Linked DNA regions of Homo sapiens: region 2 is linked to region 1. The links are contacts of gene promoters, found by promoter capture Hi-C in blood cells and fetal thymus (Javierre and others, 2016). All regions are on one chromosome and are shown on one strand. The core of a region is centred on a gene start or on the middle of the fragment in contact, and the rest is flanking DNA. Distances in the headings are between cores, read along the strand shown.

Region 1 (3,081 bases), core at 165-2,664:
GGTTGCTCCAGGTTGAGGGATGAGCATATGCAAAGATACAGAATTGTTACTCAGCCAAGTAGTTTGATATGGGCTGGGGCACTGAATGGTAGGGTGGGATTCAGACCAGATCATTGACAGATAAATGAGATTATCATTCAATGTAGATTGACATAAATCACTTTTTTTTGGAGAAAGAAAAATGATGTTTAATGGCAGGTTTAAAATTACTATGGCTTTAAGAAGAACAGAATTATTGCACTCACTTTTTAAGGACCTGGTTATCTCTCTGAACCACAGGTAATCGGAGTTCAAAGAGTTAACATAGTCTGAAGCCTCTCATTGGTCTCAGGTCCAGAAAAGTTGCTAGGTTACTTTGCAGAAGAGAAACAAATAAAAACACTTTCCCAAGTGAAAAGAAAATTAATAGTAAAAGATGTGTTTAGGGACTTACACATCTGCAGAGCATTGTGTGTGTGTGTGTGTGTGTGTGTGTGTGTAACAGCATTAACACTTAACTAATAAAAATAACTAGGGTGGTTGGGTTTTCAGACTTGCAGGATAGAACTTGTATGAAAGGTCTGGTAAGGAGTGTCAAGTATAATGAGGAATAAGAAAGGTTAAAGAGTTTAAAACCAATTAGAATTTGAAGTTCTTGATTTCAGAACTCTAAAATCCTTTTTTTTTTTTTAAGTATGATATCTCTTTAAGAGCCATTTGGTGTACTTCATAGCCTGATTCATGCCACCAGCTGCCTCTGATTTCAATGAGAAATGCAGAAAATTTATAGGGAACTGTAAAATGGGGACAGATTTTTAGTTTTCTAAATTGAGGTTTAACTGGCAAACTTGTAAAGGTTGAAGAAACCACAGAGCCAAGCTATGGGAAGCTGGTTTCTTTTCTGGTCAGAAGGAATGAACACACAAACACATATCTAACTCACAAAGTGCTGGAAGAGAGAAAGCAATGCTCTTTCCAGAGGAGGAACACGGAAAAATCAGCCTTGTGGGTGAACAGGAGGAGAGTCACATTCGCCAGCAGGCAGCACCCTGTGCAGGCAGTGGGAGAAATCTGAGCTTCAGCAGCGTCCGGAGCAGGATTTGCACGAAGTCTCCCGTTTCAAGTTTTATGTCTCCTGGAGTCCTGGGGAAGGCACCCAGCCCACCCACAGCTCCCTTCTCAGAGCCCTAAGAATTGATGAGAAAGCCCCTCACTACCACATGCAGGACACGCAGGTGAGTCTGTCAGTGACAAGGTCAGACCTTCCCTGCTATTTGACACTGGTCCCCAAAAGGGAACCGTGCCCTCTCCTCCCCTGGCACGTACCTCATTTTCCTGCCTTGGGTGCTCCCGGCTGCCCGGCCTTGGTCCTCCCAGCTTGACTTGCCTGTGAGCTCGTGCCCGGTGTGGTGTCCGTGATGCCTTATCTTTGTTCTGAGGTCCCTGTGTGTCTCTGGAATTGGCTGGCATTCTCCATTCAGGTCACGCCTTCCCCTGCCTGCAACAGATCCCCTCTCCCCCTCTCTCCCTCTGGCTTTTCCTCTCTCCTCTCTCTCTCCTTTGACTTGCTCTTGCACTCCCAGGAACCTGACAACAAAATCTGTCTTCCTACCGAAAAGATCTGCTCCTTCCCTTCCCTCCTTTATCCTGTGTGGCTGACTTCAGCCCTTGAGAGAAAATAACTGAGGGGCTCAAGCAGGTATTTGTATCACTCTGTGTGTGTGTGTGTGTGTGTGTGTGTGTGTGTAGAGAGAGAGAGAGAGAGAGAGTGAAAGGGGACAAAGTCTAATTTCTCTTTAGTCTTTTTTGCCAGATGACTATAATTTTCTGCTTTTCTTCAGGACACCCATGAAAGAAAAGCAATTAAATAGAAACAACCAACTAAGAAGGCAATTCTAGCACCTACACTAGAAGAAAAAAAAAAGGTCTAAATCCCAGAGCGTCTGTCTGCAAATAACTACAGGTTTCCTTGTGAGCAGAGCCCCAAATAACTACAGGTTTTCTCGTGATCAGAGTCACACACAACGACAGGTTTTCCTGTGAACAGAGCCACGGGCCCGGAACTGGGGAAGCACCAAGTCCTGAAGTTGGCTGGTTGTTCCTCCCCATGAGCAATACCTGTGGCACTGTTTACTTGCTCGGAGTGTGTGCGGCTCTACTCCAGCCCAGAAAGGGCCCATCGCAGCAAGAAATCTCACCTCCCCAGGGGTGTAGAAAGACCTGGGCCTGTATATATGTCTATACCCATGGCTTCCGGAGAAATCAACACTAGATCTAAGATGAGCTGAATAATAAGAAAATTACCCCCTCCACAACAACAACAACCAACACTGAATAGGGAGAGGTGTATCTGGGTGTAAAAGTTAAGTTTGACTGTGCACCTTTTCTGTGTTAGACACAGTACTAGTCATTAACATCATCTCAAGTTACTTTTGCAAACTGGTGAAAGTGCTGCTGTTATACTCATTTTACAAGTGAGGACACTAAGGCTCAGAGAGAATATGCCACTTGCCAAGATCATCCAGTTATTTATGACTCCCCACTGCCACTAGCACTAGAAGCTAACAGCTATTGAGTGCTACGTGTCAGGCACTGCTCTAAGCACTTAATATATGAATTCTTTTCAGTCATCTTTATATGTTGTATACATGGCTGGCAATATTCTCATTTTTCAGAGGAAATTGCCCAGAGAGGTTAAGTAACTTTCCCAAGTTCACACAGCTAGAAAGTAATAGAGGCAGAATTTGAAGTGTTAGCCACTGTATTACACTGCTACTCATTAACATTTTATAATGCATATGGAATTTCAAATGCACACACACAGACGGCATTCATAGAGAAACTCAATCTGAGTCATTTTGAAAAGAAGATTAGACTCAGAGTTTAGCTGTAATCTTTCCTTTCTACCCAAGACAGCTGTGTACTTTGGGCACAATACTTAAGGTATCTGATTCTGTGTCTTCATTTGGAAAATGGGAGTTACTATGAGGCTTAAATAAGACTGTGCTTGTAGAAGTGTCCAGGGGAGTACCAGAGAGAGGGCTGCCAGCCACACTCACCAAAGCGGCAGACACATGCACTGTCTACCCTCAGATAACGTTC
Region 2 (3,081 bases), core at 233-2,732, 1.7 Mb after region 1:
TGCTTCCTGGGGTAGGTTTCATTTAACTTAGATCTTTTCATTTAAGTTAGATCTTAAAAAGACACAAATTAACCTGGCAAAATGAGTGAGGGAGGCAGGCACAGCTCCAAGAAGGACTCAAGCTTCGTGTGCTAATGTCTACATCATTTGCTGATTACTATGGTTCCTCACTCAGAGCTTGAATAATTTTAGTTTACACAAACTGTTAATAAACTTGGCTACCTATAGATATATACAAGACCCAAAACAGCACATTTGATGAGGAAGAATGGGTTACAATAGGCAGGCCTACTAAAAAGGAAGACAAGTACAAGGTTGATGACTTGATAAGAAGAGAGGAGACAGAAAACAAGATAAACAGAACCCCTGCCGCGAATCCTCAGTCACTTAAAAATCACAGCAATCCGGATCGAGTGTGGAGTCAAGAGGTGCTTTAAATTTAGAGAGTCCTCTAGAATGTCATCATATATTATATTGCAGTGAAGAAAGTGACAGCCTACAGTGTGCCCCCTTGTGAAAGGCTAAATTATTTTCTTTATGCTTTGTCTTAGAAGATAGACAAATGCATAATCGATTTTAGAAATAGTTCCATCCTAATTGAGTTACAATGGAGTTTGTATTTAAACCATAAACCTTCAGTATTTGGAATGCTGCTCATCAGAGAAGAAATAATTTGGTTTGACTTTTAATAAATTCCAAAGTTCTGTGGATCACATTATGTCATACACTCTCATCCAAACTCCTGCTTATCGCGTCTATGCCTCCTCCACTCCTAAGGTTTCTTTTGCTTCTTCCTTGACTGAGGCTTTCTGCAACTCCCCTCTGGAGTCTGGCGCACGGAGCTCCTGCTGATGCTTCTTCTTCTGCATTTCCAATGTGCCAGTGAGGGGGCAGTGGGAGAAACTCTGAGGCAGGGGCTACTTGGATATGGGTCTTGGCTTCCAACCTAAAAGTTGGAAATTTTAGAAAAGTCCCTTCCCCTCTCTGAGCCCCTGTTTTCCCATTCAGAAAATAAGAATAATAACCCTTATTCGTGGAGCTATTGTGAAAAAAAAGGCATGAATGCATGTGAGCATGCTTAGTAAACTGGGCAGTGGTTCCATTCTCAATTCATGCAGAGCAATTATAACTACCCCCTCCCCTAGTTGTCATTTGCATGTGGACCTTTCTCTTTCCCTTGCTTGGTAATTGACTTGAGACTGTGTTTTCCCTGGTTTTTGTTTTGTGTTTGGTATCTCCCTGAGAAAAGCCTGTTTTGGGCTCTGCAGGTCATGTGTGTTGTGTGACCCTGGAGGAGGGACACTATTCATAGCTGATAATGTGAATAGGGTCCTCCACGGTTCTGTGATGTAGGGGTCCTGGCCATAGGGCCTAGCGTGCTGCTGTCTCTGTATGTATTAAACATTAGTGACTCTTTTTCTGTCCTTAATACTTAAGCCCTGTCCTGAGGCATAAAATATTACTGTGTACTGACCCTGAATTGAAAATTTTGCACTGTATTATTCAGCTTCAGGCCTAGCTTTCAATTTCCCATTTCATTTTCGACTGGACTACACTGGTCATTGCCTTGAGAGATTTTTCCCAGCCACAGAAGTCTTCTGGTGAAGACGGTCTTTAGACTGGCAGGGTTTCAAAGTAAATATAAGTAAAATAATTGGCAAGTCTGATATTTAGGCTTTGGTGTTTTAATCCCCAATTCTTTTGACACTGGGCACATCTCAACAGCCAGGCTTGGAAGTGGTGGTGGGGGAGAAGGACATCACAGCGTATTTCTGCTGCACTCTCCTCTTTCCACTCTCATCTGTATAAAGTCTTTGCAGCATCTGTGAAATATTGTGGTCTAACTGCTATTCGATTCTTGGTGGACTTCCGTTTCTTCCTCTGTGCACTGGGACTAATCATACCCACATCTGAGGGTTGCTAAGGAGTGACATGAGATGCTATGTGTATGCCTCCAGGCACAGAGCCAGACCCCTGTTAGGTGCTCACAAAAGCAATAGGTGAACATGAAACCATGGTGACAAACAGCCTGCTTCTCCTCTTCTCTGACAATGCTTGTCTAGATTGGGGAGCTCTGACATAAAACTTTCTGTCTTACAATGAGAGAACAATCTATCTATGTGTAACTTCCATCTATGAGACCCCTGGGCGAGGATGGTGTGTCTTCCCCTTTTCTTAGCGTTCTCACTCTGTCCCGTAGTGAGGACGGACAACAGAGAGCTGCTGTGGTCAGCGAGCCGAGGAGCCAGACAAGGCTCTGTGGTTACGTACTTATTTAGTTTCTTATTTATTACTTTTGCAGTTAACATTTTTTACAATCATGTTATTTTGTGGTTTATTTGCAAAATGCATTGTGAGCCAAGTTTGCTTCAAATGTGCTCTGAGTCAGAAAATGGTTACATAGGGGACCCAGAGAGATGGGAGGGGAGGGTAAAGAGCAGCTGCAAGAACATCATATAATAGATATATCAGTTATTGCTCCTTGCTTTGTAATTAGGCTACTCAAGGTAGACGGAGAAATGGAAACAATGCATAATAGGCTCATGTGCGGCAGCGTGAACAGACTCTTCTGCCTCAGAAGTCAAATGCAAAGGGGCCAGCCTGGGACTTGGGGAAGAGAACCCTGGAGAGAGCTTCACTCCTGCTTAACCACCCATGAGCACCAAAGCAGCATCTTTGAAAATCTTTGGGAGACAACAGTAGAGCTTGGTTAGAGAGGCAAAAGTGACGGATAATGAATTAACTCATAAATACTATTAGAGGGTTTATTATAAATTGTTTTTGAAGATTTTAATAGAAACGAAAACCTAGTTTTCAGAGATTAGCTGAAATAAGTCCCAAGAGAAGCTTTGCCAGAAGCCGCTTTTCCTTTTAACTCTCTGTTCTTCCTTTCTCACCCCCCCAGGCAATGGTAGATTCCTAAGAGGACGCCTGTTGTTGGTGAAGCCCATTTTGACTGTGTTCAAGTTTGTTCTTGTATTATTCCATCTGGTGGCTCCCCAAACCGCTTTCTTTTTTTACTCTCCTTGTAAATATTTACATAAGAAGGTTCTTGCAAAGGCAGGATCCTATATTGGTGGA

What was found. Contacts are between HindIII fragments. The CHiCAGO score rates a contact against its expected background, and 5 or more counts as called.
Region 2: a contact is called between a fragment that was not itself captured here and the fragment with the promoter of MASP1 in region 1, in 5 of 17 cell types (naive B cells, total CD4 T cells, total B cells and 2 more). The highest score is 10.1, in naive B cells.

The regions. Positions count from the first base shown.
Region 1 is chr3:187,290,323-187,293,403 of GRCh38, forward strand. MASP1 (MBL associated serine protease 1) reads right to left here and starts at 1,415. Exons shown (of 11, transcript NM_139125.4): 1 at 1,306-1,415. The coding sequence starts at 1,310. It overlaps LOC101929130 (a long non-coding RNA gene), which reads left to right and starts at 950. Exons shown (of 2, transcript NR_135551.1): 1 at 950-1,214. The HindIII fragment of the contact is 4,632 bases long and covers 1-3,081 here.
Region 2 is chr3:188,973,150-188,976,230 of GRCh38, forward strand. No RefSeq gene overlaps it. Among named protein-coding and RNA genes, the nearest start is that of TPRG1-AS1, 27 kb to the left of the region's middle. The HindIII fragment of the contact is 2,725 bases long and covers 121-2,845 here.